Regions from separate parts of the Homo sapiens genome. Here regions 2 and 3 are each linked to region 1. The links are contacts of gene promoters, found by promoter capture Hi-C in blood cells and fetal thymus (Javierre and others, 2016). All regions are on one chromosome and are shown on one strand. The core of a region is centred on a gene start or on the middle of the fragment in contact, and the rest is flanking DNA. Distances in the headings are between cores, read along the strand shown.

Evidence for each region. Contacts are between HindIII fragments. The CHiCAGO score rates a contact against its expected background, and 5 or more counts as called.
Region 2: a fragment that was not itself captured here is called in contact with the fragment with the promoter of HENMT1 in region 1 in 5 of 17 cell types (non-activated CD4 T cells, activated CD4 T cells, total CD8 T cells and 2 more); the score reaches 6.9 in non-activated CD4 T cells.
Region 3: a contact is called between a fragment that was not itself captured here and the fragment with the promoter of HENMT1 in region 1, in 2 of 17 cell types (total CD8 T cells and naive CD4 T cells). The highest score is 6.6, in total CD8 T cells.

The regions. Positions count from the first base shown.
Region 1 is chr1:108,658,366-108,662,454 of GRCh38, reverse strand. HENMT1 (HEN methyltransferase 1) reads left to right here and starts at 1,362. Exons shown (of 8, transcript NM_001102592.2): 1 at 1,362-1,492; 2 at 2,493-2,591. The coding sequence starts at 2,571. RefSeq lists enhancers at 465-1,053, 1,054-1,643 and a silencer at 1,229-1,398. The HindIII fragment of the contact is 2,630 bases long and covers 298-2,927 here.
Region 2 is chr1:108,505,042-108,508,958 of GRCh38, reverse strand. It overlaps the pseudogene RPL7L1P21. Among named protein-coding and RNA genes, the nearest start is that of EEIG2, 53 kb to the left of the region's middle. The HindIII fragment of the contact is 8,656 bases long and covers 1-3,917 here.
Region 3 is chr1:108,898,284-108,902,632 of GRCh38, reverse strand. It overlaps GPSM2 (G protein signaling modulator 2), which reads right to left. Exons shown (of 15, transcript NM_013296.5): 6 at 3,868-3,991; 7 at 3,639-3,754; 8 at 688-843. Among named protein-coding and RNA genes, the nearest start is that of GPSM2, 23 kb to the right of the region's middle. The HindIII fragment of the contact is 5,386 bases long and covers 1-4,095 here.

The DNA.
Region 1 (4,089 bases), core at 113-2,612:
GAAATTATCACTGAGTGTTTTTTCTTTTTAGACATGGTCTGGTTCTGTCGCCCAGACTGGAGTGCAGTGGTGCAATCATAGCTCACTGCAGGCTCAGATTCCTGGGGTCAAGTGATCCTCCGGCCTCAGCCTCCCAAACAGTTGGGACCACAGGCAGGCACCACCATGCCCAGCTAATTTCTTTTTTTTTTTGGTAGAGACGGGGTCTCACACTCCGGGGCTCAAGTGATCCCCCAAAGTGCTGGGATTACAGGCGGAAGCCACGGTGCCGGGCCTTATGATTGAATTTTTGAAGCTTATTGTTAGTTATGTACTTCTTTACCTATGACACTAGACTCCCCAAAATGCCAAAAACAAGATTGGTGTAATTTATCATTGTGGTACCCTTAAGCTGTCAGCATAGTGCTTTGCATACAGCAGGCGTTAAATGTTTGAAAATACAGTTCCAATATATCATTTGTGGCATATTAATAGGCTATTAATTCAGTAGCAAAAACACCAGCTTTTGCATCTTTCAAAATATAAGTCAATCTTTTTTCCCTAAAGAAGGCAGCTTCGTCCCTCCCCTCACCCCCCTAATACTCTTCCATCATATACAGGAAAGAAAGTACTTATATATATTAAGTGGAGTCTCCAGAGGGAAGGATGGCAGGATACAATAACTTTTCCAAGAGATCAACAGTTCTATCCACAACACTCGGGGAAAACTATTTCGGGGGTCGGGTGGCGGTGGAGAGGGGGCGTTGGGAGCGGAAAGAACGTTTTTCTGAACGCAGGTGTCACTGGGCCAACTTCACCCAGCCTACATTCCTTTAAGGCCCCCGTGGACTGCTCTGGGATGAAAGCGGAGGCTGACTGGGACTCCAGCCGCCGGCCGCCTCGCGTGGAGCCTTGCTGCTCCTCTTGCCGCCTTCCGCTGGCCAGGACCGTTTTTAGGCCTTTGCCACGCCTCGGGAGCGCCACGAACTCAACAGCCGCCCAAGCCGCCTTCCGGCTCGCGGTCTGCGGACGCGCTCGGAGTTGGGGGCCTTCGCCAACAGCTGCCGTACCGTGCCGCGTCGCAGCCGCACGCTAGCGGGGTCAACGGCGCGGCAGGCGCAGGGGTCCTCGCCAAGGTTCGGAAGAGGACCTTGAAAATGGCTTCTGGGCATGCGCCACAGCGGCCGTTACGAGACGCAAAACCGACGCCTTGGAACTGAGAGCCTAGAGGGACGGAGCTCGGCGCACCATGAGGCTCCCGGGGCCCAAGGCCGACCGTGAGAGCGCACGAGGTTGGCGAGCCCCGCGGGGAGGCCGAGGCGCGGGTGCGGGCGCCGGCGTAGCCGCGGCGGTAGCGTCACGCAGCGAGGCCGTGCGTGCGCGGGCGTCAGGGCGGCGCTGAGTTGAGGACGCTGGCGGCTCCGCGACGAGCTTTGTTTTTTCGGTTGGGCATGCTGCTTACCGCAGGATGATGGAAGCGACGGCCCGTACAAAGACAGAAGCGTTGGTTTCAGTGAGCAGGGTTTCTTTTTCTTTTTCTTTTTTTTTTTTTGAGACGGAGTCTCGCTCTGTCGCCCAGGCTGGAGTGCAGTGGCGGGATCTCGGCTCACTGCAAGCTCCGCCTCCCGGGTTCATGCCATTCTCCTGCCTCAGCCTCCCAAGTAGCTGGGACTACAGGCGCCCGCCACTACGCCCGGCTAATTTTTTGTATTTTTAGTAGAGACGGGGTTTCACCGTTTTAGCCGGGATGGTCTCGATCTCCTGACCTCGTGATCCGCCCGCCTCGGCCTCCCAAAGTGCTGGGATTACAGGCGTGAGCCACCGCGCCCGGCCAGGGTTTCTTAATACAAGTTGGTGACTAACATGTTGCCTAGATTCCAGATTAAAGTCTAGTTGTTGGAGACACATGTGCAATAGAGAACTAAAATTTAAATTCAAGTTCGTGAGTGAATTGAATAGATGTTGGAGCATCTCTAGTTTATCAAGGACACTTTTTTTCCCCCTCGAAATTTCATTTTGACGATGTGTGGAAAAATTTTTGAAAAAATTTGAAGTTGAGGGTCTTAGCAATGAAATGGGCAGAACTCCTAAGATTGCTCCGTTTGTATCTAGTTGAACTATTCATGATAGTAAAGGGAAAGGATGGCTGTTTTCGCTCTTAGTAGGGTTTGACGTAGTGAAAAGTTACGCTTTCTGAGCCTGTTTGCGAATGTCTGAAAAAATACTGGATACATTCTGTGGATTAAATGGTAGTCCACATTTAATCCACAGATTGGCTATTGTGAATAATGCTATGAACTTCGGTGTATAAATATCTGTTCGAGTCCTGCTTTCGTGTTTTTTTTTTTTTTTTTGAGTACTCAGAGGTGAATTCATTATTTACTTTTAAGCGTTCTATTTAAATTATATACTGTAGTAAGGAGTAAGAAAGAGGCTTTCGTTCTTCCCTTCTGAACTAGGCAGCTATTTCTTTCAGGTATCGCTTTACAAAAACGGTTTTGTATTTATTACAGCTGAGTCAGTGCTGATTCTCTCAAATAGAGCTTGAAGGATAAATCTTCATTTTTGTTTCAACAAAACTTCGAAACAAAATGGAAGAAAATAATCTACAGGTAATGCCACCCTTCTTAGCTGCGTCTTTGACTCTTAAGAATTATCACCTGGATGTATTGTGAGATAATTGCAAACAAAATTGATCACATTTAGGTCCTAGCATTTCCCGGGGTGTTGGTTGAGGTAAACAAGGGTATACATAGATGAAAGAGTCACATTTGGTGTATGTAAGTAAAATAAATGTTTTTACTTTTATCACTAGGTGTTAAAGTAGCAAAATCTATTTTAAAAACACTCTAAGTAGTGTTCCCCAATGTGGTTGTGTATATGGATCACCTGGGGATTTTGTTAAGTTGCAGATTCTGTTTAAGGAGGTCTAGGGTGAGGCCCAAGCTTTTGTGTTTCTAAAGTTTCTAGGTGAAGATGCCACTGGTTTGGAAACCACATTGGGAGTACCTAGGGTGTAGCTCCCTGCTGTCCAGTAGCTACACATGGCAAGTGGGCACTTGAAATGTGGCTAGTGGAATTGAGGAACCGAACTTTAATTTTTTTTTTTTTTAAGACAGGGTCTTGCTCTGTTGCCCAGGCTGGAATGCACTTGCCCAGTCACGGTTAACTGCAACGCTGACCACCTGGGCTCATAACTTCATTTTTAATTTTAAGTTTAAAATTGGATATTTGATTACATTATTGGAAAAAAGTATGTTTGGAATAACTTGGGTATGTGCATGTATATTTTAAATGTAAAGTTTTTAAATCCAATACAGACAAGTATTTCTGATGAAGGTTTTGGAACTGAGACGCAGAAGTACAAAATATGTAGCACACTGGATTTTGAAGACTTAATGTGAAAAACAAGAATCTAAAATCTCTTATATTGATTTTATGTAAAAATTATATTTTCGATATATTGGTTTAAATATTCTAATTCCGATTATAATTCCAATTCTTGGGCTACAAGAAAGTTGCCTACTTGTATTTTATCTATTGGACAGTGCTACATCAGATATCAAATACCCTTTGGACTACTTTTATAATACTGCTGTATAGGAATAGTAACAGCTATTACAGATTAATCTTATAAATTCTGTTTTTTCTTGGGGTCATGTTAAAGAAAAAATTAGTCTGACTTTATTGAGGACTGTTGCAATAAGAACATTGCAAAGATGAAGAATTTGACCAGATAGGGTGATCAGATATCAGGGGTAGAAGATTCTGTCTAAACTGACTTAGAAGTATTCTTATTAAAACTGGGCTAGGCAGCCCAAAGATAGGATTGGGGCCAGGGTTTGAGGTCTATTCAAGAAGATGGCTCAGAGGAACCTGACTGAAGTTTGGTCAGTGAGAGAGTCTTTTGCTGGTGTGTTGGAATGTTCCTACAGATGCCCAACTACTCAGGAGGCCGAGGCCAGAGGATTGCTTGAGCCCAGGAATTTTAAACCAGCCTGGGCGACATAGTGAGATCCTCTCTCTCTCTTAAAAAGAGTGTTGGCTGGGTGTGGTGGCTTACACCTGTAATCCCAGCACTTTGGGAGGCCAAGGCGGGTGGATCACGAG
Region 2 (3,917 bases), core at 1,056-3,555, 150 kb after region 1:
CCAGATGGGCTTCAGATTTAGAAATCCCCAGGTCATATAAGATTCCAATATGTACAGCAGTTTTAGGCTCTGGGGGTGGCTTTTACAAAGACACTACTAAAAATTTTCTTTAGGTGAACCATTTTCTTCTTGCAGTGGTTCTCTGCACCAGTAAACTCATGCTATTAATTTTTAGGATGTGTACAACAAAGGCCAAGGAATGTTTATCTGGCAATTCCAAGGCATGAGATTTCACTTCTAGTCATCTGAGAGGCACCTTGTTGTGTTTCTGCCACCGGAAATCATGTAGGAACGATTCCAGTTGCTTACACCTGAGGCCATTTCTCCCTTTTCTTTTTTTTTTTTTTTTTGCTAAAAGTGCATTCTTTGCCTGAGTGGCTCTGAGGACAATAATGCACTAAATAATATTTGCTTGTGTATCTTTTCAAACTTTCCAGTTGATCCTTATTTTCTTTATTCCTTTAAAGGAGTGATGGATACTTCAGAAATTTATCGATGCTCTCAAGTTAACAGGTATAAATATTCCTAAAAAAGAGGCAGAGAAGATTCTTGAAAGGTCAGCTCTCATATATGTATGTATATATTAAACTTAATTTTTATTATTATTAATTTTATTAGCTCTAAACCCTTTTTAATGATAAAAGTGATAACTATGGAAATGTTAGAAAAATATGAATAATGGCTTTTCATTATTGAACATCTGTCTGCTAGCACTCTTCTAAGAACATTACATACATTATCTCATTTAATCCTCACAAGACTTTAGAGACCAAGTCTATTATTTTTCACAGAAGAGGAAATTGTTGAGAAGTGAGGTTAAGTAACTTCCCCAATGTCACCATAATCCAATCACCCAAATGTTAACCTGGTATCATTTTAGTGTATAGATTTATTGCTTTTTATAAGATTATGTCATTTTATATTTATCAAGTTTGATCCTTTTTGCTGGGCATGTACTAGCTAACGAGGATGCAGTGGTAGCCTGGCCCTTGTGCCTGTCCTTACAGAGCTGACAGTCCACTGTGTGTGTGTGTGTGTGTGTGTGTGTGTGTACACGCACATGTGCTAACAGTGAACAGACAGTTGCAATGTGGCAAGGATTATGACAGGAACATATAGAAGAACAACAAAGAAAAGTATCTTATCAGGAGAGTGCTGAATTTTATTAAACTGTATAATGTGTCATTTGACCTATTTATATAATGAATTATAGTAATAGATTTTGTCATGTTAAACATTCCTGAAATAAGGCTAACTTATTATGAACTATTTTATACAGAACAATAAAGAGAATAATATAACCAAAAACCATACCTACCACTGTGTTTGTCATATTTAACATTTTACATATTTGATTCAGATTTTTAAAAACAAAATTACAGGCAGCAAACATTTTCAATGTATTATTCTCTAAACCCATTTCCTCCATTCCTGCCAGAAGTAACTACTATTCTGAACTTATTATTCTCATATAGACTTTTATATTTGCATACATTTTACTATACATATACTGTTAAAATATAGGATATTGTTTCTTATGTCTTAAGCCTTTAAATGGTGACATACAGGATTTTTTTATGACTATTTTCTAATCCTTCAATTTTTGGAGATTTATTTATGTCAATGCATATAGCTCTAGTTCAATTATTTTAACCACTGTATGGTTCCATTTAATAAATATAACTCAGTTTACTTATGAATTCTGATGGTGGTTATTTAGGTTAAAAATTTCTTTTGTTGCTAATATAATATAAAGCTGCAATGGATATTCTTGTGTGCATCTCCTTGTGTATTACTTGCGGTGGAATTGTTTGGTCATAGGCTTTACAGATATTTAACTTTAATTAAATATTCCAAATTGCTCTCCAAAGTAGTTGTACCACCTTAGATTCCTACCAGAAATGTATTTCCATTCCAACACTTGATACCGTAGTATTCTAATATTTTAATATTTTCCAAACCTATGGGTCAGAAATATTATCTCATTATTTTTAATGTAACTAAATGTAATTAATTATATTCCTTATTACTAGTAAAACTATCTCTTCATATATTTGCTGGTCATTTGGATTTTTTTTGTGAATTACCTGTTTATTCCTTTTGTCAATTTTTCAGCGAGATTGGTTGTCTTTTTCTTAATGGCTTGTAGGTGTTCTTTCTAAATTCTGGATATTAATCCTATGTTGGCATTATGCAATATGAATATCTTTTCCCAGCTTGTTGCTTATTTAAAACAAATTTTTGGTGTTTTTTTGTTGTGCAGACATTTTAAATTTTAATGCAGTTATATTTGTCTCTTTTTCTTTTATGGTTGTGCTTTTGACATATTGAGAAATTCTTCCTTACCCTGGGGCATGAAGATATTCATCAATATCTTATTTAAATATTTAGATATTTCATATTTAGTTCTTTAATTCACCTGTAATTGATGTTTGTGTATGGTGTGAAATAGGGATTCAATTTCTTTTTTTTTCTGTATAGTCAATTGTCCTATCACCATTTATTGGTTAGTCCCATCCTTTTCCTACAGATTTGAAATGCTTACCTCTAGTCATATATTAAATTTCCATCTGTGTATGGGTGTGTTTCTGGTTTCCTTTTCCTGTTATATTAGTTGTTGTCTACTGTGTATCAATACCGCATGTCTTAATTACTATCACTGTATAATACATCTCGACATCTGGACTTACATTCATCTCCAATAGTGTCAATGCTATTTTTGACCCTTTCCTCTTCTATATGAATTTTAGAATCAGATTGTTTTGTTATATACATGTGCATACACATGCACATATATATATATATCATTTTTGGAATTTTGATTGCAATTTATTGAATTAATAGCTTAATATTGGGGAGAATTGATGTATTTATGATGTTTCATCCTCTATTTCTTGAACATTTTATGTGTCTTCATTTTTTAGATCCTTCCTTTTTTCAGCAGAAAAGAGCAGCAATAACATTATTGAAAAATATCCATTGGATCTGGCGTTTGGGAGATTTCCGGGGATGTCAGTGAAAGGAGTTTGAGTAGTGTGGTAAAGGGTTAAGTCAGGTTGCATAAGGCTGTTGAGTGGGTGAGGGTGAGGATGTGGGGACTGTGGTTTAAGAGAAATGGTTAATGTGGGGATGTGGTTTAAGAGAAATTTAAATGAGAAGGAGAGGACAAGTCTTTTTAAATTTTATTTTTATTATCTTTTGGTGGATAGGAGAGATCTGAGAAGTAGTCACCAGAGAAGGACATGTTGGATCTGTTATAGAGACAGGAGATGACTGATTGGGAGAAAAGGGTTCCAACAACTCAAGACAGGGAGTCCTTGAATAAGACTCAATATTTCAACCTCTGAGTGTAGAGCACAAGAGGTGGTGATGAAAAGTGGATTTATTTATTTACTAACAAATATTTATTGAGTGTCTGTGATATGCCTGTCATTCATCTAGGTGCTAAGGATGCAGTAGTGAAGGAAATAGGCCAAAATCCTTGCTCTCATAGAGCTCACCATAAACAAGAGGAGAAAAACAATAAACTAGATAAATAATTAAGCTATGTTAGATAATGAAAAGTGCTAAGGGGAAATGAAGCAGAGGAGGGAGACTCGTGTGTGTGTGTGTGTGTGTGTGTGTGTGTGTGTGTGTGTGTTGGGGAAATGCAATTTAACTGTGGTGAGTAGGGAATTCTTGAAAGTGACATTTGAGTAGAGATAAGGAGGAAGTAAGAGAGGGAGCTATGATGATCTTTGGGGGAAGAGCTTTCCAGGCAAAGGAAATAGCAACAGCAAAGGGTGAAGTAGGTAGTGTCTCTGACAGGGTTAGGGCATTGAGAGGAGGCCAGTGTGTGCAGAATAGAGTGAATGAGGGAGAGCGTGGTAGGAGATGAAATCTAGAGGTAATAGGAGGCCAGATCACATAAGGCTTCC
Region 3 (4,349 bases), core at 153-2,652, 240 kb before region 1:
GTTTTTTAATACAGTAAAACAAAAAAACTGAATTAGCCACTAACATTTAAAAATCAGATTTCATATAAAACTCAGCACTTCCAGCTTCTCTTTAAAAAACAGGAAGATGTGGACATAACGGATTTTCATTCCTGGCTGGCAACAATTAGTTGGAGTTGGGTAGCAGTTGCCCCCTTCACACTGGACATTATCTCTAAGTTCACCACAATTCCCACACTTATGTAGTTAGGAAAACTTTTTTTTTTTTTTTTTTGAGATGCAGTCTTGCTCTGTCGCCAGGCTGGAGCGCAGTGGCGTGATCTCAGCTCACTGCAACCTCCACCTCCTGGGTTCAAGCGATTCTCCTGCCTCAGCCTCCTGAGTAGCTGGGATTACAAGCGTGCGCCACCACACCCGGCTAATTTTTGTATTTTTAGTAGATACGGGGTTTCACCAGGAAGACTTCTGAAGAGGTAATTGAGTTTGGGACCTAGTCATTGATCTTGGGTCAAGGGCATATGGAACCAGACTAATCCTCTATCACAGACTAGCCCTTCATACAATGATATACAGAGGATATCACTGAAAGAAAATTCCTTAAAAGGGATTTTAAGGAAAACAAAGGAAAAGAAACAAAGGAAAAATTCTAGGGATTCAATAATGCATCTATATTTTACCTTAGTTATGGTAAAAAGACGTAAAACATACCTATCATTCAGCTCTTGAGCAATTGCTAAGTGCTTCAGATGATAATCAATGGCCTTTTCATAGTCTTGAAGTAAAGTATATGTATTTCCAAGACTGTAACAAGACTGTGCTTCTACAGCTCGGTCTTTAAGCTGTCGGGCCAACAGTAGTGTCTTCCTACAAGAAGAAATTAATTCTTATATAATGATCATTCTCAGTTTGGGCTTTAAGAATCACAAAACAAAACTCTCATTTTTCCTCTCTGCTGCTTTCTGCTGTCTTTAAATCTCTGAGAGCCTAATATTCATATCCCGTACTTTCTCCATTACTTTTAGACAAAATGAAAAGACGTTTTTGAAACACAGAAAGAAGATTCAAGACTTTTAGAATAAATTTGAGAATCCTAACAATTCATCAAAGTAAAGGAGTATTGAAACATAAAATCAAGAGGTTCTAGAGATTAACATAATATCTTTAACATTTAAAAAAACTTTCCCTTTAGTATTGGCAATAGCTAAAAGAGGCTTTTTTCCACATGACATCTGTTTTCAATCATACCGTCACCTTTGCATTGTCAAAATTTAAAATATTTAGGTAAAATTCTTATGTGTAGGCTATTAGTCACCACTTAGGTAAAATTCTTATGTATCGGGCATTAGTCACCAACTCATGAAAAATACTGAATACTACATCCAAACATTACCCAAATTCTACCTGTGGTATTGCCAGTGAGAAGCTAGCGTAGCAGTTAAGAGCATAGATCTTGGAGCTAGACTGGGTTTAAATCCCAACTTTGCCAATTACTAAGCTAAGGGCAAAGTCACTCAATCTCTCTGTATACCAGTCTCTTCTTATATAAAATGGGGGAAATATCTCGAAGGATTTTTGTGAGGATTAAATTAATATGTATAAAGTGCTTAGAATAGCATCTTGTGCATAGTAGTTGCTGTATAAATGTTAATGTGTTATTATCAGTGCTTAAACCTATAGATGCTTTTGGATTCAGTAATTTAAATGACCCTCCCATTATTTCTGTCAAATAGTATAATTACTTCATATCACTTATAACTATATGACAAATTACTATGCGGTAACGTGATAGCTTTTTTTAAGCAAACAAATCTAAAGTTACATATTTAATGATGATACCTTCAAATCTGTCACCTTGGGAGGCTACCTACTTATTCTAATGTTGCCTGTCTTTTCAAATATTTTTGAAAGACTTTTGGAATTGCTTTCAGATCCTGTGGCATAATGCTTTCTGGCATACCATTATTCTTTGATGGTACAGTTGATTTGTAAATGATCAGAAATCTTTCTGGAACCAAATTCAATTACTAACATAGGTTTACCAAACTACTGCTTTGTATCCGGAAGGATATGGATCTACATTGTTAGCCTTCTTGTTTGGCCCTGATAACAATTCCAGGCTGGGTGTGGTGGTTCACGCCTGTAATCCCAGCACTTTGGGAGGCTGAGGTGGGCGGATCACTTGAGGTCAGGAGTCCCAGACTAGCCTGGCCAACATGGCGAAACCCCGTCTCTACTAAAAATACAAAAATTAGCTGGGCGTGGTGGCAGACACCTGTAATCCCAGCTGCTCAGAAGCTGAGGCAGGAGAATCGCTTGAACCGGGGAGGCCGAGGTTGCAGTGCACCAAGATTGTGCCATTGCACTCCAGCCTGGGCGACAAGAGCAAAACTCCGTATTTAAAAAAAAAAAAAAAAAAAAAATCTAAAGAAGAGTTCTAAAAATATTTCTAACCAACGACTTGGAATATATATAAAGTTCTGAGTTCTAGCCTGCTTATTGGGAGGAAAAAAACTAAGTTTCATTACTTTATATTCATGCTTCTTTAGTCAAATAGCCACTATCCATTTTATAATAGAACCTTTCAGTATTTAACACAGATACACCATTTAATAATTAAGACTTCTCTATATCCCTTGGCTTTAAATATAGGAAATTTTTATATTTAAAATCAAAATATATACTCCTTCACATAGTACACAGTGATATATTTTATTTGGGAGGCTATTTCATATCTAACTAACCTAACCAACAAATATTAACCATTAGTTGATGTTTAAAGCAAAGTGGAATGCTATTTAATTTTTTTAGATAGGCCTAAAACAATTTTACCTTTTTTATGAAGATGACAAATTATCCAGAACTGTCTCATATTGGCTTCTTTAACAAAATACAAATCAATCACTGTGTCTTCGGTTTAGTCAAACTGCCTTCTACCCAAAATCTGTAAGAGGCTTCAATCCCCACTAACTAGGGAAAACTCAATCTAGAAAGCACAGATCAGGCAACTTGAAGCTGTCTAAACTTTCTATCATCTATGTCTCAAATCTACTGATAAGAGAGATCCTGCCACAGAAGAAGCTGGGATTGTAAATGCTTCAGGTAAGTGAATGGGGGACTCAGCTTACAGTGACAGTCAAATATAGGCAGAAAGAGGGTAAAGGGAGAACTGCTCAATAAGAGGGTGGGAAGGTAGAGAAAAAAATTCAGTGATCACTGGTATAGACTATAAATATTTTTGTTACAAGGCTTTCTTTTGGCCTCTCTTCTAACCCATAACTGAGTGAAATAAAGCATATACACAATATACACCACATATGCTAAACAGGTTTAAAAGATATTAAAGGTTGAAAACTTCATTTAAAAACAATTACTTTTAAAGATAAAAACCAATATTATAAAGGGGTCATACTGCTGCTATTAAATCTTATGTACAATAATATTTATTGAGCACTGTGTACCAGATACTGTGTTTAGTATATTATTTCATTCAATCCTCACAGCATTCCCCAAAATGAAGTATTGATATATTCTGTTACAGATAAGGAAATTGAGGCTTAGATGCCAAAAGTTCTGCTACAATCAGATTTTAAACCTAAAGCCTATGAATTAATGGGACTGAGTATTCATTTTACATTTATCTACAGAAATATTAGACTAACTTGTAGTATTCCGAGGCAGTTTCAAATTCACCAAGAAATATATATGCATTTCCAAGGTTGCTATATGCTCTTCTTTCAGCTGCTTTATCTCCAAATTCTTTTGCAATAAGGAGACGCTGAAACAAACAATTTTAATTAGATGTAGATAAAATAAAACTGAAGAATGATCTAATCACTGTTCAGAACTTTGATGGAGGAAATGATCTGGCTCCAAGGCTTTCCACTGTACCTGCTCATGAGCTATAACTGCATCCCTGAAGTTGCCAAGGAGGTAATGTGTGTTTCCAAGATTTCCAAAGGCACGTCCTTGTGCCGCTCGGTCACCCAAAGCAGTCACTAATGATAGGTTTTCCCTAAGGGATCGCAAAAAGTGATGAAAAAATAAGTTTGCAGAACAATTTTATGTATGTGATTTACATATCTAATTCTTTTTATCAGAAAAAAATGTAGGGAAGCTTACAGCCATAATGTGCAACATTTTAAGGATGACATCTATGATGAAGAGCAATTATAGGAAATAGCTGGGAACACTTTATTAAACTATTCAGATAGGTTTCTGCCCAGGGTCAAGCACAGAGTTAATCTTGGAACCCCTATAGTTAAGTAGTTCTATGAAATTCTATTGGTAAAAGACTAAATTACTCTAAATAACAGACCAACCATTGACATTTCTTGCTTTTGCCACTAAGTGGCACTGGTCTGCAACTTAAA